Linked DNA regions of Homo sapiens: region 1 is linked to region 2. Evidence: promoter capture Hi-C in 16 types of primary human blood cells and fetal thymus (Javierre and others, 2016). All regions are on one chromosome and are shown on one strand. The core of a region is centred on a gene start or on the middle of the fragment in contact, and the rest is flanking DNA. Distances in the headings are between cores, read along the strand shown. Region 1 overlaps G2E3-AS1 (G2E3 antisense RNA 1). Region 2 holds the start of NUBPL (NUBP iron-sulfur cluster assembly factor, mitochondrial).

Region 1 (6,751 bases), core at 3,645-6,144, 1.0 Mb after region 2:
AAGAATTTTATTCAGTCTCTGATAATCCCTCAGTAATGTGAACTAGCTGAGAACTGAATTCTTAGAAAATTTTAGTCATAGCTAATGTAACCTCTCTTTCCTGCTTTCCTCTTCCTATTCAATCCACATACAGCAGAAAACAAAACAAAAACACTCCTGGGACCAAGGGTCATCAATTTTACATGGAAGAAACAACATAAACTGCTTTGGCAGAAGAATTCCTATAATCTACTCTAAAAGGTTTTTACCACAACCAACATGAGTAACAGAAATGATAAAATGCGTAGAAATAAATTTTAAAGAAAATTCACAAAATCAAATTAGAATTCAATTTAATTTAAAATAATTTTTAAATTTTAAATACAGTTTTAAAGAAATTTTCTTTAAAGAAAGATATAGAACCTGCTACTTTAAAATATAATTTGAGAACATAAGTGATTTCAATGTTCATATAGGAAAATTAATATGTAAGAATTGTTAAGACATATTAGAAAAAGAAAACAGAGGTCAGGAGTAGACAATTTGTCTTACTAGAGAGTAAAAACTTACCACAAAGCTGCTACAAAGAGTAGCCAAAAAAAAAAATCAGACAAAAAATATAGTATTAGCACAAAAAAGAAAAAGAGAATCCAGAAAAATGAAACTATATAGAGAATATTAATATATTATAAAGGTGATATTTCCTTTTCAGGAAAAGGATGGGTTCATTCATAAATTAACAAGAACTGGAAATAACTGGCCAGCTATATGGAAGATATAAAGTTAGGCCTGTACCTTTTATCATATACCAAAATAAATTCTAGAAACATTAAAGATTGAAATTTTAAAAAATAAAACAAAAGTATATTGGGGAGAAGTTTAGAACGGTAACTGTGACTTTAGGGTAGAAGAGACTTCTCAAACAAGGCAGGGCCAGGTGCAGTAGCTCTTGCCTGTAATCCTCGCACTTTGAGAAAGCCAAGGCGGGAAGAGCACTTCAAGCCAGGAGTTTGAGACCAGCCTGGGCAACATAGTGAGACTGCTGGCTCTACGAAAAACAATTTTTTAAAAAATTTAGCTGGGTGTGGTGGTGTGCACCTGTAGTCCCAGCTACTCAGGAGGCTGAGGTGGGAGGATCCCTTGAGCCCAAGAGTTGGAGGTTGCAGTGAGCTGTTGCACCACTGCACTCCAGCCTGGGTGACAGAGCAAGACCGGAATCCTAGAAACCATAAAATAAAAGATGAGTATGTTTCATTATGTTAAAGTTTAAAATATTTGAACAGCAAAAGTCACCATGACACATTGAAAGATAAATGAGGGACAATGATAAAATATTTATAAAACATAGGACACTAGGTTAACAATTCTAATGTAAAAACTTTTATAATTTTTTTCAAAAAGCAATAAAAATGGGCAGAAGAAATGAACAAGTAATTCATTGAAAAGGAAATGAAAGAGGACAAGACACAGAAAATACTCAACTGTACTACCTCACTTTTGGGAATACAAATCAACCAACCAAATACCAAGTTTATTGGATTAGCAAAAATTAAAACAATTCACAATATCCCACACTGGGAGAGTGTGGTGGTAAAATGTACACTCTTTTTTTTTTTTTTTTTTTGAGACAGAGTCTTGCTCTGTCACCCAGGCTGGAGTGCAGTGGCGCGATCTTGGAGCTTGCATTTGGTATATGATAAAAGGTACAGGCCTAACTTTATATCTTCCATATAGCTGGAGTGCAGTGGCGTATCACTGCAACCTCCACCTCCCAGATTTAAGCAATTCTCCTGCCTCAGCCTCCTGAGTAGCTGGGATTACAGGCATGTGCCACCATGCCAGGCTAATTTTTGTATTTTTCTAGTAGAGATGGAGGTTTCCCCATGTTGGTCAGGCTGGTCTTGAACTCCTGACCTCGTAATCTGCCCGCCTCGGCCTCCCAAAGTGCTAGGATTACAGGCGTGAGCCACTGCGCCCGGCCAAATGTACACTCTTATCCACAGGAGCATACATTGCTACAGCTCTTGGAAAGTAACTCAGGCTTTTCTCAACTTTGGGATTCTCCTATAGAAATAAGCATGCTAGTGCTTTTTGAAGCACTACTTACAGTGGCTGCTAACTGGAAACAACTATAAAGAGGAAGATAATTGAATGAGTTAGGGTACATCCATCCTGTTAGGAGGCCATCCAAAGTTGTGTTGCTTTGCCCCCTAAACCATTGCCTCCAGAGTTAGGGCTATTGAACCCCCAAAGACATGCAAATAAGAAGGTATGGTATTCTTTAATTAGAGAAATAACAATGCTATCTTATACTGTAAAGCTGATAAACCTGGCACTCATTCTTAAATTAGCGCCCACTAGAATTAGTATACACTTTTGGACTAAATTGTCCTTTACAGGAACTCATTCCTCCTCTGTGTTAGCCATATTGAACTTCTGGTAACCCTTCCTGCCTTTCAGATGAATCAGATTTTTGTTTTACCCTCAGCCACTACCCACATTTGAAGCAAATACTTGACTCATACTTAAGGCAGATCCATCCCTGAATGTCTGTTCACTTTTCTTTTATCTTCCACCTTGAGGATAAATTTCTAGCTTTCTCTCTAGCCTGTCTCCTCAGCAATACCGATTAATATTCTGCCTGGTATCTGATAACCCCTCACTTATCTGTTGCCTTGATTAGAGACCATCCCTGAGATCTTAGAATGAAAGTTTTTAATTAAGTTTTCTGTGACTCAGAGCCCTAATAGAGTCATACTATAAGAAGTGTACTTTGAGGCCGGGTGCAGTGGCTCACACCTGCATTTTATGTGGCTCACATAAAATATGTCACAATCAGCTACTCAGAATACAGGCCACTGTAGGACTCTATTCCCAAACTTCTACTTCACTAACCTCTAACAAGAATGTAAAAGCATGAAATAGAGGTAATTCTCTTCTCTCCAGGTGACTTTATATCTTAATCATTCCTACTGTACTCATGATCTTGTTACTGCTCCCGTATTTACCTCAGGTTTGTTTTTTACTTCCTCCTTTAATGGTCTTTTTTTCTTCTTCCCCTCTCTGTGCTCACTGTCCTTATCTGTTACTTAGGCTTCCTCTATGATTCTCAGCAATATTTGAATACTTTGGAATATACTTAGTATTTCTAATTATGGCATTAATGCTACAAAATTTTCATCCCATGATTCCAAAATAAATTAGCCTATATTATCATTATTATTACTATTAATTGTTGAGACAGGATCATGTTCTGTCACTCAGGTTGCAAGTGCAGGGATATGATCATGGCTCACTGCAGTCTCAACCACCTGGGCTCAAGTGATCCTCTCATTTCAGCTTTTCAAGTAGCTGGGGCCACAGGCACGCACTGCTATGCCCAGCTAATTTTTTTTTTTTTTAATTTTTGTAGAGATGGGGGAATCTCGCTATTTTGCCCAGGCTGGTCTTGAACTCCTGGGTTCAAGTGATCCTCCTGCCTCAGCCTTCAAAAGTGCTGAGATTACGGGTGTGAACCACTGCCCCCAGCCATAGCCCATATTGTTGATCATCTCTTGTGTTGAAGACATAATGATAATATCATACGAAATAAGTACATGACCATTATTAGTGTATGACTCCATGATTAATAATAATTTGCCAAGCTTCTGCTATGCTGTCAGCAGTGCTAATATGTTTCTGAATGGAGTTGTATTCATTTTCTCAAGCAGAAAGGGCTTGATGCCTGATGCACTAAAAGCCAATATACAATGACTCTGGGCTGTTGGGAAAAGAAAAGCTTTTTGTTATATGTCAACTCACAAGAAGACAGGAGTCCAGCTCAAAGCCGTCTCTCTGTGTTGGCTTTACTTTTATTAGAAAAGGTTTAGGGGGTGATTCTGAGACTAGTAGGTGATTGGTGGAAGAAAAGGGGAGGTCTGGAAAGTCCTCAGGCACGCCCAGTTATCCCTTTGTGCCTCCTCATGGGTCACAGGTGCAAATTTAGGGGGACTTAATATGAAATGTGGTAGAAATTCAGGCTGTGACATCAACAAATTTGCTCTGCGCAAACTCCAGTTGGCCACATTGTTTCCAACAGTTCAGTTCATTGTTTCATCCAGTTTTTTAAAATCCCTCAAGTAGAGGGAGTTTCAGCTTTTCGGCAAGTTGTTTCCTTTTATTATTGACTAACCTTCAAATTCAAGAATGTCTGTTAGTTATTGGTTTCTTTAACTCTTTGGAGCACAGTTTCATTCATGTGTTTACTAATATGTTTCTTACATTCATTTGCGTGACCAGTCTTTTTATATCAATTTTTGAACTTGAATTAAGATACATTTTTGGGAAAGTATGTTGTCTGCTATCAAACAGAAGTCTTTTCTTCATTGTCTATTTACTTGGATCTTTTGATCTAAAGTGTTCATCTAACTGCTGTTCAGTCTCTTGTAAGTTAAACACACCTCCTCCTGGCAGCAGGAAGCAGCATCCAAAACAGCGAATTTCAGGTCTTTTGTTTCAGGGTTGTTTGGATAATAAGTAGCTATACAGTAACCACAGTGATTTGGATTGACATCATGCCTGCTGGGTAACTGTATGGATTTTACAAAGGACTCAAAGTTTGCTTGTAGCCAATATGAGACATGTGTTTTAATATAGGTCAAAGATGTGGTATGTTTATGTTAACATTACTCCTCTCTAAGTTGGTGTTTCAAACAAATGATTGTCTGGATTGCTTTTTAAAATTGCTGTCTTTTGGCCTGAAGTGTTTACATAGAAATCAGAGCCTCTTTACAGTTAAGAGTAACTCCAAATGCAGGAACACACATTGGTAATGCCACCCAGAATAAATCAAGTAATGAACAACATGCTTGAACTGAATCTTTAACATTCTTGGATACAATTGCTGGCAATCAAAACTGTTTTCAGTTTGTGTACTTTGATTTTTTAATCCCTCCCAGAATACTTGCGGAAAATGACTCCGCAACTGAATTGATAAAGTGACTCAGTTATAATAAGCCCAATCCTTACCTGAGTGTTTTGTTGGGGGTGAAAGAAAACTTCAAATTCTCACAAAGGTCTAGGGCACAGAATCATCACTTAGGAAGCAGGCACTTGCTCAAAGTTTAGCTTCAACACTTAGGGCCATTCTTTAGGAAACATTTTTCAAGGATAGTAAGTAGTGCAATGTTAAGAGGCGAACCTGAAAGCAAAACAGGCTGAGGTTTAAATACTAGCCGTTTTACTTACTAGCTAAGTATGAAGTACCCAATCCTTTGAGCTTCACTACACATTAATCAGATGTAAATAATAACTACCTGACAGGTTTCTTGTGAGCTCTAAGTGAGAGGACATTTAATGGTAATTATAATTAGGCAAATGGGTAAGACATACAGTTAACATCCCCTTCCTTCTCCTTTCAATGGCATCTGGCATTCCATGCCCAGTATCCTTAGGCTTGTGAGCCACTGAAAGGCACAAAGGAACTCTCCTCCCAGGTGGATCTTAGCCTCATATTCCTTTTCTCTGCCCTTCAGAACATATGATACATTCCTTAGTGACCTGCTGTCTACTTTCCACCTTGGTAGTGATTTGAGTTAATCCATGTTTATAGAAAGAGCTAATAAACTAGCTCTAATAGGTCATATTTGTAGCTGAAATAGTGAGAATTTCAGGGCAGTTTGATGTAATGTTTGCTATTTAACCCCTGTACAATTTTTTAAATTGTTTGGGTTTGCAAGTCTAGTATCTCCAAGTTGACTCACTTCTTAGGTATTGTACAGTAATAGATATTAAACTTTAGCCTTCCCACAGTGGTCATAATGGGGCAATGAGTCTTCCTGTAGGTGAGGTTAACTAATAAAAGGTATATGATTGGAAAAACATAAAAGGAACTAACATTTGTTTAATGCTTTCTACATTCAAAACACTGTGCTAAAACTAAATGTTGATTTACTTAATCTTGACAAAGTAGGTGATGAAACTAGGGCTTAATAAGATTAAATAATTTGTCCAAGGCCACAGTAGGCAGAACTGGTATTTTAACTATAGCTTGTTTGGTTGGACACAAAGCTTGTTCATTTTCCATTACAATATTTCAATTCACACACCCAGCAGAGATAGGAGCAGTGATAAGAAACCTAATATTAATCTAAAACAATTAGCTAATAGCAAAGTTTTTTTTTGTGAGAAATTTGCTTGTTCATCTATAGAACTGTAGGACGTTAGTTTAATAAAGAACCTCAGATATCATCTAGTATTAGGTAGAAGCTTTGTTAATATTAGTACAGAGACGACTTTTTAGTACTAGACTGAAGGATGAATTAGATCAACAATTTTCAAAATGTGGTTCATGAGGTCAAACTATCTTCAAAATAATACTAAGACCGTTTGCCTTTTCACTTATATTCTCTCACAAGTGTACAATAGAGTTTTCCAGAGGCTGCATGGGGTGTGATATTGCAACAGACTGAATGCAGAAACTGATATGAAAATCCAGTGATTTTCTTTTTCTTTTCTTCTTTTTTTTTTGAAATGGAGTCTCACTCTGCCACCCAGGCTGGAGTGCGGCAGCGTGATCTGAGCTCACTGCAACCTCCGCCTCCCGGGTTTCAGTGATTCTCCTGCCTCAGCCTCCCTGGTAGTTGGGACTACAGGCACCCACCACCACACCCCGCTAATTTTTTTGTATTTTTAGTAGAGACAGGGTTTCACCGTGTTAGCCAGGATGGTCTCGATCTCCTGACCTTGTGATCTGCCTGCCTTGACCTCTCAAAGTGCTGGGATTACAGGCATG
Region 2 (6,515 bases), core at 1-2,500:
ACAGCCTGGGTGACAGAGCGAGATTCCGTCTCAAAAAAAAAAAAAAAAACAAAAAAAAAAAGTTACTAGATGTTTTAAAAATAACAGCAACCAATTATTGAACACTAGTAAACACTAAGCTAAGTGGTTAGCTTGTGCAATTTGAATAACCATCTTATGAAAGAAGTTATCTCCATTTTACAGTTAAGTGAACTGAAGATTTGCTGTACAATCTGACCACTTTTTCCTGAGTTAAGGGGTGGGAGACCCGGCTAGTACCTACTTTTGTCTAACTCCAAAATCTAAGCGTCTACCCGCTACCAACTCCTGAAACTAAGGAATCACATGTTAGGAACTTCACAAATAAATTTTTAAAACACAAAACTATAATTTCAATAGTGTGCACTTGTCTGTTGGCATAAGTTCTTAATCAGGAATAGAATTAATATCCTATAATACCTGCTGTAGTAGATTTTCCGACTCCACCCTTTCCAGAAGCCACAACTATAACTTGTTTAACACCTTCTATCGGTTTCTGCTTTGGAAGTCCTCGGGACATGATTTGTGTTCTTCTTTGTTTTAGGGTCTCACTCCCGGCGCCAGACAACTTTAAAAAATAATAATAATAAAAAGCCGTTTTAAATAAGCCATCTCCATCATCACACTGTAAAAGCAAAAACAATCTGGGGTTTGCAATTAAGAGGGCTTTCTTTTCTAATTCTGCTCATCTTCACTATGGAGACATTTACCTACTACTACTGATAACAATTGTAAAGACACATTGCTTAAATTGAAATTTTTCTAGCAGGATACGCTGAACGTTTAAAAATGTAAAAACGCTGCCTCTTTACGGAGATAAGGCTTCCACGTGTTTTGCTTTTCTTCAATCTATTTGATAAATAACCCAAAGCCAAGAAAGCAATGTAGAATACCACATCTACGTTCTAACTGTGTTTCAAGTCCCGCCACGCCTCAGCCTGGGCCTGCCTGAAAAGTAGGCACGTCCAGCACACTGGGGGTCTCAGGAACTGAGGCGAGTCTTTGGCAAGAAGCAATGCCAGGGCATCTGCGGCCCTGCAGCCCAGCATCTGTCAGCCCGCTTCCCCCTGCCCTGCAGCACCACGGACCTGGCGCCCACAAACCATCGCTCGGCTTCCCCCAAGCGGGGCAGTGGCCCCGCCACCAGCCCGGAGCGACACCCCACCAAAAAGCAGCAGACGCTGCCAAATCCCCATGACGCGGAACGCTGCTGTGAGCCCTGCTGGGAAACTGTCGCGGGTGGCGCGGAGTGATGACGTCACGGAGCAACGCTCGGCTTTCTCTTCCTAGCAACCGGTCTTCTTTGGGTTTGTTGGCTCAGGAACCCAATCTGCATGATCTTGTTTATAGCCAGCTACAAACATTTTGCAGCGTTTTACTAAACGTTTGTGAAGTGTTGTCATATAAAACATCTCTTATGATACTTACAGAAGTCCCGAGGTAGACAGAAGACTTACCTAGTATACTCTTTTTATGGACAAGAAAACGGAGAAAGTTTAAAGAGACTTGACCCAGCTTAACAAAAGTAGGAAATGGGGGACCTTGAAAATGACCCCAGGATTTCTTACTAAGCAGTATATGGTCATTTAAATACTACCACCGTTAAGGATTTTACCTTTTTATTTTATTTTTTCCCGTGTGATCTACAGTGAGAGTCTGTTTTGCGTTGGTATTCATGGCTTGTGTTGCTGACAGTTCCCTGAAAGAAAGGTCAGGTTGCTTTACCAGCAACCTGGTAAAGAACTTTGCAAGTTCTTCCAGACTTAAGACTCATTTATTTAACAAATATTCGTTGAGCAACTACTATGTACCGAGTACTACAGTAGACTTAAAATATTCAGCATTGAGACCGACATAATTCCTCCACTAAAGGGCTTTATAATCCAGTGCAAAAGACAGAATAAGTTAACAACAAAATTGCGGTATAATATGATAAGTACAGGAGAAAAGCATTGAGGGATACAGGAGAAAGGACAAAGTGATACAAAGAAAGGGCACTCAATTCAATCAGGGGAAGCTTCTAAATTAGGTAATATCTAAGCTGAATGCTGAATCTGAATAATGTGTAGAAGTTAGCTGGGAGAATGGCAAGGAGATTGTTGTAAAGAGGTTAGAAATGGACTGCTAAGGCTAGGCATGGTGGCTCACGCGTGTAATTCCAACACTTTGGGAGGCCAAAGCAAGAGGATTGCTTGAGCCAGGAGTTCAAGGATGCAGTGAGCTATGATTGCACCACTGCACTCCAGCGTGGGCAGCAGAGTGACACCTTGTCAGAAGAAGAAGAAAGAAGGAAGGAGGAAGGAGGAAGAGGAAATTAAAAGGAGAAGAAAGAAGAAGGAAGAAGAAAGAAGAAGAGAGTAGAAGGAAGAAAGATGAAAGAAGAGAGAAAAGCCCCCGCCCGGCCAGCTGCCCCGTCCGGGAGGGACGTGGGGGGCAGCCCCCATCCGGTCAGCCGCCCCGTCCCGGAGGGAGGTGGGGGGCAGACCCCGCCCGGCCGCCACCCCGTCCGGGAGGTGGAGTCACCTCTGCCCGGCCACCCCGTCTGGGAAGTGAGGGGCCCCTCTGCCCAGCCGCCACCCTGTCTAGGAGGTGTACCCAACAGCTCATTGAGAACGGGCCATGATGACGATGGCGGTTTTGTCGAATAGAAAAGGGGGAAATGTGGGGAAAGGAAAGAGAGATCAGATTGTTACTGTGTCTGTGTAGAAAGAAGTAGACATAGGAGACTCCATTTTGTTCTGTACTAAGAAAAATTATTCTGCCTTGGGATGCTGTTAATCTATAACCTTACCCCCAACCCCGTGCTCTCTGAAACATGTGCTGTGTCCACTCAGGGTTAAATGGATTAAGGGCGGTGCAAGATGTGCTTTGTTAAACAGATGCTTGAAGGCAGCATGCTCGTTAAGAGTCATCACCACTCCCTAATCTCAAGTACCCAGGGACACAAACACTGCGGAAGGCCGCAGGGTCCTCTGCCTAGGAAAACCAGAGACCCTTGTTCACATGTTTATCTGCTGACCTTCCCTCCACTATTGTCCTATGACCCTGCCAAATCCCCCGCTCCGAGAAATACCCAAGAATGATCAATAAATACTAAAAAATAAAAATAAAAAAATAAAAAAGATATCAAAAATAAAAATAAAAAAAGAAAGAAGAGAGAAAAGAAGAGAGAACACAAGAGGAGTAGAAAATACATTTCTTTTCTGGATTGTTAAGAACTGTAAATGATCTGTGCAACTTAGGACAAAGTGACTAAAAGAGATGAGGATGGAGTGAAGGTTGGTTAGATGGAGGTTGCCTAAATCAAGAAAGGCTGTATATATCTTGTAAAGAAATTTGGACTTTATCCTAAGGGAACTATAGAAGGATTTTAAGCAGGAAAGTAACATCAGATTTGTGTTTTAGAAATACCACTATGATTACTGGGTTAAAAAAGAAATGGATCAGCGGGGCAAGATCAGAGACAAGGAGACATGAGGTCTCTCTCTTGAAGGCTTGACTTAACATCTCTAAATTTCACTTTGTTATCAATAAAATAGTTAATTCCTACTTCTATGGTTGTTGTGAGGTTGAACTTAAGATAATGCATGTAGAACAGCTGTCACAGAGTTAGTAATTGTTAGCTATTGTGGTAATCATTGGTTGTGTAGAGGTTTATGACATGAGCAACTAGATGAATTCCCTGAGAGAAAACATAAGAGGAGGAGCAAGTGAGAATAATGTTTGTAGAATGGCTGAATCATTACTTTGGTTTACCTTTCCCCAAATTAAAATTTTAGGAGAGTAGTAGAGATGTTTCTTCTCCAAAAAACACTGACACACATATACATATCCATGGCCTCTTTTCAAAAGGGTATTCTCCTTTGGTCCTAAGAATTGCTAAGTCATTTGACCCCATTCCCAAGGTCACTAATTGGACTAAAGACTGATGTACAACCAAAAAATTGACCAATCAGATTAATTCTCCAGAGAGCCTGGAAAATAAAAGTAACAGGTGTTAGTCAATCTTAGTTTGTCTTTGAGCTAATACAGTTGAAATTACTATTTTCTACTATGTGCATGCAGAAGCAGATAAAGCCAATGCAAGAGAGAAGAAGAAAGTAGATCATAAGAGATCATGTTACCATAGAGGAAAGGGAGAAGAGCTGCACTGGTTCATAACTTTTCAGTTCCTGGTTCCAGTTCATAATGAGGTTCAACCGGACTTCCTATCCTTAGGTCCATAAGATATACTTACATCCACCCAATAAATTTACTGTCTTAGTCTAATTTGGATGGGTTTCTGTGTATTTGTAACTATGCTGAGATATATTTTTAAATATGTGTCAATAATTTTCTCCCTATAATTCCTTGTATCTCGCATAGCCCTTCCCCATTTGGACAAATTATATGGAATCATTTTCTGACACAGCAAAATGTCTGACCCAATAAAAATGTCAGAGAAAAGAGGTTGTTTTCTTGGTTTTGAATTTTGGAAGTTGGGACCTTTTAGAAGAATGGAGACAGCTCTGGCAAAGACAATAGATTGGAAGACCTACATAGTGATATAAAAACATGATTTATTGCCTATATTAGTTAGGATTACATTTGGCTGCAAGTAGCAGATAACTCTACAGTTGTATTAAACAAGTAGGGGTATATTAGTCTTATATGAAAAGTTCAGAATTATATCACAGAGGTCCAATACGATGAATCCATAGTGCCGTCATGTTCCAAATCAATTCTTTTTGTTCCATCATCTTGGTATCCTTGGTATCCATTTTCATCCCCTCATAGTCATGAGATGTTTGTTGTACCTTCAGGCATCAAAGCTATGTTCCATATAGGAAGAGGAGGGAATGACAAAGAGAATTTCCTAGTGAGCCTTTGCCTTTTTTATTCAGGAAAGGAAGACACACACACACACACACACACACACCCGACTGGCTAGAACCGGGTCACATGACCATCCTTAGAACCAAGAGAAACTGAGAAATTAAGCATTTAGAGCTCTCTAACCTGTAGAGTAGAGGAAAGCAATGGAGAATGTGACTGGAAGTGGGTAGTCAATGAGCCAAGTTAGTATCTGTCCTAGACAGACTATAACAAGTTTCCTGGGATTATGAGGGATGAAGAGAATCTGAAGAAAACTGAGAACTTAAATATCCATGGGTTCTTGTACCAGTCATTTGTAATTGGCTAACCCAATGTGGTAAAGGGAAATTTTTCTGGGAAGTTTCTGAGAAAGCTTTTGCTTTTCTGATTGAGTGGAACGTAGTTGGTGCTAACTCCTTTTTCCCACCTTGACCATGGATGTGACATGGAGATGTGGCAGTCATCTTGTGAACATGAAAAGCACAATAATGACAACCACAATAATAGAAGCCAAAAGCTGAGGAAGACAAAGAGGAAATATGGCAAGAAGATGAATTCTTGGCAGTATAACTAAGCTGCTATACCAGTCCTGGTCTGCATTTCCAGACCTCTGGTTATGTGAGATATTTAAGCCACTGTTGGCTAGGATTTCTGTTATTTGAGCTACAATAATCTGTGCCTGTTACAGCGAATAAGAAGGACTCCCATACTCTGAGACTACCTCTCTCCTGTTCACCCAAGATTAATCTCTAGTGGGGAGGGGGGACAACAGAACCCCAAATCAGCTTGGGGGATGTGAAAACAACAGAATCAATGTCCCCATTACCAGGTGGAGCTCAGTGCAGTGGCAGAACCACAGAATAAGAATGGTTGAGTGTTATGTTTAGGCAGATAGATAGATCTGAGTGAGCCACAAAGTGGCTAAGAGAATGCTGATCCTAAAGAGTCCTTAAGGTCAAGAATTAGGGAACATTTGGCAACAATCTGCATGGTTAGTTATTAGCATCTCCATGGATGCTGGTATGCATAGATAAATACCTTGAAGATGAAGTTCACCTCAGCATGTGGATATCTGGACACTGCATAGGCTGTCTGTGACTTAGCTACAATCCTGGTGGAATCTGTATTGAACAAGATTTTCCCCCACCCTGACAGAAATTTATAAATAAATAAATAAATACTGATCAAAATAAAGAAGATTCTTTTGAATATCTCCTAATTATGTGTAGAGTAATACCTTGTATTGTTTTCTAAAAAGGAAGGATTTATACCTGTAAGGTTGCCCTCGTTCCTCCCAAAAGACAACCCTTCTTAGGTGACTAAGGACTCACTGAAGTTTCAGATTCCCTCACAGATAAGAAGACTACCTCATTCCCTTTCCATAGGCCTCAGGCTGTGTCAATGTCAGCTGAGAACGTGTGATCCACTCCCTTGCTCAACTCACTAAGGAAGAATAGGGTATCTTGGACAGTTTGTCTCTGTTGAATATACTGAATAAAGCTCAGAAACTTATTTCAGTTCCTTTAGTTTGAGGTTACTGTCCACAACTGACCTTCTCATCCTGTCCAAAGGCTCACCAAAAAGAAAACCTTATCCCATCTATGGGACTTGTCTAAATGGCAACCCCCTTAATTGACCCTACT

The links. Contacts are between HindIII fragments. The CHiCAGO score rates a contact against its expected background, and 5 or more counts as called.
Region 1: a contact is called between a fragment that was not itself captured here and the fragment with the promoter of NUBPL in region 2, in 1 of 17 cell types (activated CD4 T cells). The highest score is 5.4, in activated CD4 T cells.

The regions. Positions count from the first base shown.
Region 1 is chr14:30,549,509-30,556,259 of GRCh38, reverse strand. All of the region lies in intron 3 of G2E3-AS1 (G2E3 antisense RNA 1), which reads left to right. Among named protein-coding and RNA genes, the nearest start is that of G2E3, 6.3 kb to the left of the region's middle. The HindIII fragment of the contact is 2,270 bases long and covers 3,760-6,029 here.
Region 2 is chr14:31,556,139-31,562,653 of GRCh38, reverse strand. NUBPL (NUBP iron-sulfur cluster assembly factor, mitochondrial) reads right to left here and starts at 1,250. Exons shown (of 11, transcript NM_025152.3): 1 at 1,107-1,250; 2 at 439-586. The coding sequence starts at 1,214. NUBPL-DT (NUBPL divergent transcript) reads left to right here and starts at 1,323. Exons shown (of 3, transcript XR_943720.2): 1 at 1,323-1,543. LOC105370438 (a long non-coding RNA gene) reads right to left here. Exons shown (of 4, transcript XR_943723.3): 4 at 4,558-4,829. RefSeq lists enhancers at 526-1,081, 1,008-1,407. The HindIII fragment of the contact is 6,263 bases long and covers 1-2,037 here.